Linked DNA regions of Homo sapiens: region 2 is linked to region 1. The links are contacts of gene promoters, found by promoter capture Hi-C in human tissues and cell types (Jung and others, 2019). All regions are on one chromosome and are shown on one strand. The core of a region is centred on a gene start or on the middle of the fragment in contact, and the rest is flanking DNA. Distances in the headings are between cores, read along the strand shown.

What was found. Contacts are between HindIII fragments. The study calls those that stand out against the background at their distance.
Region 2: a contact is called between a fragment that was not itself captured here and the fragment with the promoter of ADCY8 in region 1, in 2 of the 25 tissues and cell types used here (bladder and dorsolateral prefrontal cortex).

The regions. Positions count from the first base shown.
Region 1 is chr8:131,038,716-131,042,840 of GRCh38, reverse strand. It overlaps ADCY8 (adenylate cyclase 8), which reads left to right and starts at 1,932. Exons shown (of 18, transcript NM_001115.3): 1 at 1,932-3,467. The coding sequence starts at 2,508. It overlaps LOC105375760 (a long non-coding RNA gene), which reads right to left and starts at 3,311. Exons shown (of 6, transcript XR_928653.3): 1 at 3,231-3,311. RefSeq lists enhancers at 1,654-2,192, 2,193-2,732. The HindIII fragment of the contact is 7,762 bases long and covers 1-3,007 here.
Region 2 is chr8:131,408,117-131,412,241 of GRCh38, reverse strand. No RefSeq gene overlaps it. Among named protein-coding and RNA genes, the nearest start is that of IADEN, 98 kb to the right of the region's middle. The HindIII fragment of the contact is 9,537 bases long and covers 1-4,125 here.

The sequences.
Region 1 (4,125 bases), core at 683-3,182:
TTCTAGAAATCTACTGGTTAGGGATTGGGGGGAATATTAGAGGATTCTTTTCTCTTCCTTCTGGAATTCTGTGTGCAAGGCAGGTGGCCCGTTTTGGGTTTAACCCGAAGCCGAAATGCGTGGGGAGAAAAACAGGAATTAAAAAGCAAAGAATTAAACCCCGCGTTTCTGGGACACGGCCGACAGAAATAACCCTGGAGACAGTGTATGTGGTTGGGGGTGGGGGTATCGAAATTATTTTTCCTTAGGACAGGCAGGAGGGAAGGGAGCTTCTCTTCTTGCTCAGGAGGGACTGAGGGGGCGGCAAGGCAAGGCGGTCATTTGGGCTTTCATGGGACGCCACGGGGAGCCGCGAACGCGCCCAGGGCCTGACGTCATTGGCCATCAGCTGACTGTGCTCTGGGCCCGGGCTCCACTGGCTGCAGCCGCAGTCTTGGTGGAGGAGGTGGTGACCACCACCGCTCCTCCACCTGCATCCGGCTGCGGGACTGCGGCGGCCGCGTTTGCCCTGCAGACCCTGCACCCCGGGACGCGGCTCATCTGTCATTAGCACCGGCACTAAGCTCCCACCGCTCAGCGACTTGGTCCGCCGCAAGCTCCGCCGCAGGCTTTGTCCGCTAGCGCTCGGCTGAGTCTGGGCGGGCGGGAAACCTGGGCTAGGGCGAGGCGGGGCCCCTGGACATGCCTTTCTCCACGTCCGCCTCCTCGACCCTATTGTAAGCGGAGAAACTTAGTGTGCGAGGCAGGCAGGGGACGTCCCCATTTTGATGTCCCGTACCCTCCACCCCCTTCGGATCGAGGTAGTAAAGAGGCTCCTGTAGGAAACTGACTGCCTCTATGATTGCGGCCTCTTGGGGGATTTTGCGTTTAGCCCGAAAGTTGGCTTTGCCAAAAGACGCACGGGTAGGAAGGGCGAAAAGGAAACCCTGTATTCCGTCGCGCTGGGCTCTCCGAGTCCGTGCGCAAAGCGGCCTACGAGTCCTGGCTCCGCACCTGCAGAGGACAAGAGCCAATGCCTAAAAAAGAACAGCGGAGGAACCGGCTGGCGCGGCCAGCTGGAACGCTGGATCGCAGTGCGCCCAGGGAAGGCCGGGGGCGCCCGCCGGCCCTAGCCCTCAGTGGTCCTCTCCCACGCCGGCCCGCGCGTGCCTCTGCCTACAAGACCTGGGGCGTCCTGGCCAGATCTGGATGGCAGGTCCCTCCGCCACCCCCGGCCCGGTTCCGGGGGCGTGGCTTGGCGCGGGGGCGGGTTTAAGTCACCGCGGGTGTCTGACCACTCTGACAGGTCTCCAAATTTCTCCCAGTCGCCTGGCGCCCGCGGTGCGTTTCAGAGCTCCAGGGTGGCACGCGGCGGCGCTTCCCTAGATCCAGAGGCGTCTCTGTCGACTTCCACGCGGCCTCGGGCCTCCCTTCTCCTCCAAACCTTCGCCTCATCCGCCAAGCTTCGGTTCTCAGCCTCAGATATCCGCACCGGCGGCTTCTCTTCGTTCTCGGAGCTCTTGGCTTTGGAGCCCTCACCACTTTTTCCTTCCCCCGCCTCTCCTGATCCTCCTAGCTCCGAGCCAAATGGACTCCAAAGAACGAAATAAAGGGGATGAGAACTGTGTGCTGCGACCCTTCGAAAGCACAGCTGAAAGCGTTGACCTCGTCTTATAGCTCAGGCTGGGACCCTGGAGCGAGAGTCCCCACACCCCCTCCGGGAGGGATGCTTCTGGCCAGAGCCAGCGCTGCGCTGTCAGTCCTTGCTCCCGAACTAGGAAAGAGCCTAGGAGGGAGCCTCAGCATACCCCTTCCTCCAAATTAACTATTTGGTGAATTGTTAGCGCCGAGGCTACCACCTCTCCAACCCTGTCGCGGGGCGCCCCGCCACCTCACCGTGACCCCCTCCTCCTCCTTCTTTGCCCCCGCCCCCAGCTCCGCCCCTGCTCCCCATCCCGGCGCAATGGAGTTCTCCGAAGGGCGATGATTCCAGCCACATCTGCTAACTTCGCACCCATCGCTGCCGCCGGTCACCGCCGGCCAGGCCCCCTGCAGCCGCGGAGCAGTGGGCGTCCAAAGCCCAGTGCAGCAGCCAGGACCCGCCCGACGCGCAGCAGAAGCACGGCGCCCAGGCGCTTAGGCGTCTCTTGGAGAGCAAAGGCTGCGCCAAAACGCTGAGCCTAGAATCAACCAAGGAGCCTGAGCCCAGGAAGGGGCTGCGTGGCTCACAGCGCTGCGGCTCCTGAGGACAAATAGCCACTGCCGCTGCGTACCCAAGCTGCGCCGGCTGGCGGGAGAGCAGCACGCAAGGACGCCGAGGTCCGCCGCGATCTTCCAGGTGCCCTTTGCCCCTGGGCACAGTATGACCCGACCTACAGGGAGCCCTAGCGCAGGGCTCCTGCAACGGGGCAGCCTAGGATAAAAAGGATCCTTGCCAAGCTCCTACCAGGCCGCCTTTGAGTCTTTAGGAACCCCTCCTCCGGCTGCCTCCCCAAGGTTCTGGGCCTCCTTCCCTGCGGCCCAGAGCCATGGAGCTCTCCGATGTGCGCTGCCTTACAGGCAGCGAGGAACTCTACACCATCCACCCGACGCCCCCGGCCGGCGACGGCAGGAGCGCCTCCCGGCCGCAGCGGCTGCTGTGGCAGACGGCGGTGCGACACATCACGGAGCAGCGCTTCATTCACGGGCACCGGGGAGGCAGCGGCAGCGGGAGTGGAGGCTCGGGCAAAGCCTCGGACCCTGCGGGCGGCGGCCCCAACCACCACGCGCCGCAGCTGTCAGGCGACTCGGCGCTGCCCCTCTACTCGCTGGGCCCGGGAGAGCGAGCGCACAGCACCTGCGGCACCAAAGTCTTCCCGGAACGCAGCGGGAGCGGCAGTGCCAGCGGCAGCGGAGGCGGGGGCGACCTGGGCTTCCTGCACCTTGACTGTGCCCCTAGCAACTCGGATTTCTTTCTTAATGGGGGCTATAGCTACCGAGGGGTCATTTTCCCCACCCTGCGCAACTCCTTCAAATCTCGGGATTTGGAACGCCTCTACCAGCGCTATTTCTTGGGCCAAAGGCGCAAATCGGAAGTGGTGATGAACGTGCTGGACGTGCTGACCAAACTCACTCTCTTGGTCCTACACTTGAGCCTGGCCTCGGCCCCCATGGACCCGCTCAAGGGCATCCTGCTGGGCTTCTTCACCGGCATTGAGGTAGTGATCTGCGCCCTGGTGGTGGTCAGGAAGGACACCACCTCCCACACGTACCTGCAGTACAGCGGCGTGGTCACCTGGGTGGCCATGACCACCCAGATCCTGGCAGCAGGCCTCGGCTACGGGCTCCTGGGCGACGGCATAGGCTACGTGCTCTTCACGCTCTTCGCCACCTACAGTATGCTGCCGCTGCCGCTCACCTGGGCCATCCTGGCCGGCCTGGGCACCTCGCTGCTGCAGGTCATCCTCCAAGTGGTCATACCCCGGCTGGCGGTCATTTCCATCAACCAGGTAACTCCTGCCTGCCTTGCATTTGTTTCCCCTCTAACTTCCCCGGGTTATTGATCATATAGCTTCCAGAGAGCCAGGGTTGCCTCACTCTCTTTAAGTCTCCGCCTTCAGTCTGGCACAGTGCCTTGTACCTAGGAGGTCTTGAGTGTTAGCGGAATGCAATCTCTTCTTAAAGTGGAACTAAATGACCTCTAAAAGTTTCTACCAACTCTACCCTTCTACTCTGATTCTATGAGTAATTCTACTCTGACATCAGCTAAGAAAGTCTGCTTTCTGCTCCTCATTCCCCTCCCTCAGGGTCTGCAGTCTCCGGAGCAGGAGACAGAAGGGGAGGAGAAGCATCCAGATTTAGAAGGTGACCCATTCCTTAACATCTCTCCTCAGGAGAGTCGCAGCAGGGTGTTGTAGCAGGCTCTGGGCTTCAGAGTTGGGTTTTTCCGTATCTCTAAGCCACAAACCCTCAGTTCTCAAAGGAACATACATTTGTTAAACACATACTGATTGTCAGTGCTGAGTACTGTACGTGTTATGTCATCCAATCCTTCAAACAATCCTATGACACATGGTTTTCTCGGGAATTTTTTATTGCCTTGGTGACCAAACATGATATCTTCTCTCATGACACGATGCGACCCCAGTGCTTTGAATAAACCAACCT
Region 2 (4,125 bases), core at 1,219-3,718, 370 kb before region 1:
AAGTTGCAAATGCTTTGGGCATCGCAGAGGCCCTGTTTCAGCAATTAGGTCAAGTAATTGTCCCTCTTGAAGGATTCTGAGTGCCTTTTGGTAGTTTTTTAAATTCCTCCTGCTTGTTTACTGCCTGTAATATTTTATGAGCTCAGTATGTGTAGTGTGACATTTCTAAATATCCCATTGAGTCTGACTCTGTGCCAATCACTTCCTGTTTTAATACATGAAGAATATCATCTAGTTAAAGTATTATACTTGGTTTTACTTATTGGGGGACTAGGAACTCCTTTGAGAATATCATGCTAGTAGTAAACCCTTTCTTTCTCCAGCAAAACTGCTTTTTGTATTGCTATCTATGGGTCCATAGATCTCTGAGACCCAATCATGACATTCTTAACACCTGTGGATTCCAATTAACTATCCTGATTTAAAAGAATCCTTTGTTCCTCATATCAGCAATCTGGTTCCATGCTGGAAAGGGCCATTTTGCTGACACCTGGTTCCCCCAAATGGCCTGAGGCCTCTCTCCCAGCTCTGATCAGGTGCCTTCCCCAAGGACATCCCTCTAGCTGCTATGTGAGGTCCTGCTCCTAGTGCCCTTATTCTTGGAATCAAGAATCCAGGCTGATTCTCAAGGTAATGCTGTGAGACAGAATATTTCATGTGTATTTGAGTGTGTGGAACTTCTGTGCCAGACCTTCCAGAATAACGTATCTATCATAAATAGAGTAACACTAGCTCCTGACCCCTTTAATACTGTTCTCCACAAAGATATAAATTCTGCCATAATGAGGATACTTTCTGTCTTGGTTCAGCCACCATCAAACAGGGTGAGCTAAAATTCTTACTTTGCACAGGAGAAGGAAGAGATGAAAGTGAGAGTAAAGTCAGGCAACAAATAGCAGAGAAAATGCAAGAAAGGACAAATAAGATCTTCACATCCCTAATACCTCTAATAGCCCCCTGGTGTTTCATGTCTCTCTGGATTGGATCAATCTCCCGGTCTCCAGCCAGGAGATTTTTGGAATAAGATTTTTTTGTCCTTCAAGCTCCGGTGGGCCACAGAAGCATAATCACAATAATCCCCTCAACAGTCAAGCTGAAGTAGACCACATCCTGTTGGCCCCAAACTAAATAGAAACACGGAAATAATTGGAGAGCACAGAAGGCCGGGCGGAACTCCTGACTAGCTGTCTGCACAGGCTTGCCTTGATCCTTGCTTTAACATCCCCATAATACAACCATATGTTGTTTAAATTTTGATATCTGTATTTTACCTTGTGATGGGGTTTCCTTATATTACTGCTACCAGTGAATACCCCTTTGACGATGATGATCCCATGGTATTTACAAGACTCTTACCTAGTTCATCCACTTGTTTCAGATTTCACCATCCTCATTTCTTGGTCTGGAATCTAGGTGAATAAGCTGAGACTTTGAAGGTTGTCCAAGGCTACAGAGTCAGGTAGTAGCAAATCTGTGATTTGAACAGAGATTGGTCTTTTTTCCAAACTCCAAAACCCACTGGTCTTTTCTATTCTCAAAATTATGTGCATTTCACCAGCTATAATTTTTTGGTTTTTGTTTTATTTTGTTTTTAAGGCAAGAAATAATCCTTTCTCAGAGTCCTCAGTCCTCACCCTGTAGTATGTACTCAATAAATACTGCTTGAACTAAATTTGAGTTTTAAAATTAGAGCACTAGCTTCTTAAATGGGCTGCAGGCAAAAACCTCACACCTGGAAATAGTAGCTACATACACTTTATTTCTCTCCTTTAATAGATGCTCAGAGAGTTTCCTTCCCAGGGTCTCTAGGAGACTGATCTCAGGAAAAGTCTAGAGCACGGTCACTTTTACAAGAGCTTTGCAGCCTTCAAAATCCTGGAAAAACTGCACAGGGCTAAATTTTGCCATTGAAGGAGGTAATCTTGAGCTCTGAGGGATTAATTACTTATGCAAAAACAAAAGAGCCAGTTTAATAGGATAATTGCCAATGAAAGAAAATTAAATGGAATCAAAAGAAAAATTGAAGCCACAATATTCTTTTGCCTGCTGGAGGAACAAAGCTAATTGTTTTCTATCTGAAGTTCCCTTTTGGATGTTTCCTCCCAGCTAATTTTTCATGTTATTTGTATTGCACTGAAGATTCTCATTTTAACTTGTAGGAAGTGAGGATTCTTTAATTCTAGTTTTTGGAGTTGATTTGTTTAACTTGAGTGCAGTGCTTTGGGTTGTAAAAGTTGACATCGGAAGTTATAAGATAAAATAAAGGGACTATATGAATGATGGTAATGAGCTCAACTCCTTTGTGATAAACCAGTTTGATAGTGCTGCCAGAAACCTTTGTAATCGTAGTTTTATTTAGGGAAATTGTATTTAGAACAAGGAAGGCATAAATCAGTCCTACTCTGCATCAGCCATTTTGCACTTAAAACCATAATTAATTACAAACAGCCAACATTTTGAGAAACGCTAGCAAATTGGAATGGCTCCCCAGGACAAATAGGTGACAGTTGATGCACTGTTTTGAAAGAGAAAATTGTAATACCCAGTGTTAGTGTGGTTGTAGGGGGAAAGTCCTTCTTATGCACTGTTGAAATGAAAATTGACTGCTACAGTATTTCTGGATGTATCTTGGAAGCACACACAAGAACTTTAAAAACTGTATGTGCTGATGTGCTGTGACACAACTCTCACACTCCTAGAAATTTATTCAAAAAAAGAACAAGTGCAGCAAAGATAACATTGCAAAATTGCTGGTTTTTTTTTTTTTTGTTTTTTTTTTTGCATTTTGAGCTATTGGAAATTCAATGAATTCTTAAAATTGTGATTAGTTAAATACATTATAGTGTTCACAACGGTGTAATATGTAGCCATAAAATGAAATCTTAAATTGCTGTTTACTGATGCAGAAAGTTTATAATATAGAGTGTATTGTATAAACTTGAATGAATATTTGTTTAGAAATTATCATATGTATACACCTAAGCATAAGACAAAGTATGGGAGATTATATCATATGTTAATATTGGTTATATATAAAATTGTTTTCTCCAAAAGTTTATCTTCTATGATGTCTATAGTTTTATTTCTATGAGTTTTTAAACTATAAAATAAAAATAAAAGAATAGCTAAAATTCAGGGATGATTTAGCTGGGTTAATAATTGATCTGCAAAGATTTACGCTGCTCTTGAAAAATGAAATAAATGAATAGAATAAAATTGTACATTTATTCACGATAACTTCAAACAGATGCCAGAATGAAGGAGAGGATGCTTTAGAGGGCATCTGGACCATATACAAAGAAAATCTACACAGCAATGGAATGAGTGACCTTAGGGGTAGCAGGCACTCTAGATAGAAATATAGGTGGATGCTGGATAATTACTTATTATGTAAATGCTAACTAAATATATTTTGAGTGAATGAATAATTCATAATATTTTTGTATATTTTGAACCAACACAGAGGTTCTATATAAGAAAATAACATAATAAAATCAAATAATCTATTTATTGAACAATATTCAACTGGCACAGGCAACCAAAACAAAAATGGACACTTGGGATCACATCAAGTTAAAAAGCTTCTGCACAGCAAAGGAAACAATCAACAAAGTGGAGAGACAACCCACAGAATGGGAGAAAATATTTGCCACCTACCCATCTGACAGGGGATTAATAACCAAAATATATAAGGAGCTCAAACAACTTTGTAGAAAAAATCTAATAATCTGATTAAAAAATGGACAAAAGATCAGAATAGACATTTCTCAAAAGAAGACATACAAGTGACAAACAGTTATATGAAAAGGTGCTCAACATCACTGATCATAGAGGAAATGCAAATCAAATCCACAATATCATCTTACACCAATTAAAATGGCTTTTATCCAAAAGACAGGCAATAATGAATGCTGGCAAGCATGCAGAGGAAAGGGAACCCTCATGCAGTGTTGGTGGGAATGTACCTTAGAACAACAACTATGGAGAACAGTTTGAAGATTTCTCAAAAAAAACTAAAAATAGGGCTACTATATGTTCCAGCAATCCCACTACTGGGTATAAACCCAAAAGACAGGGAATCAGTATATTGAAGATACATCTGCACTCTTTGTTGCAGCACTGTTC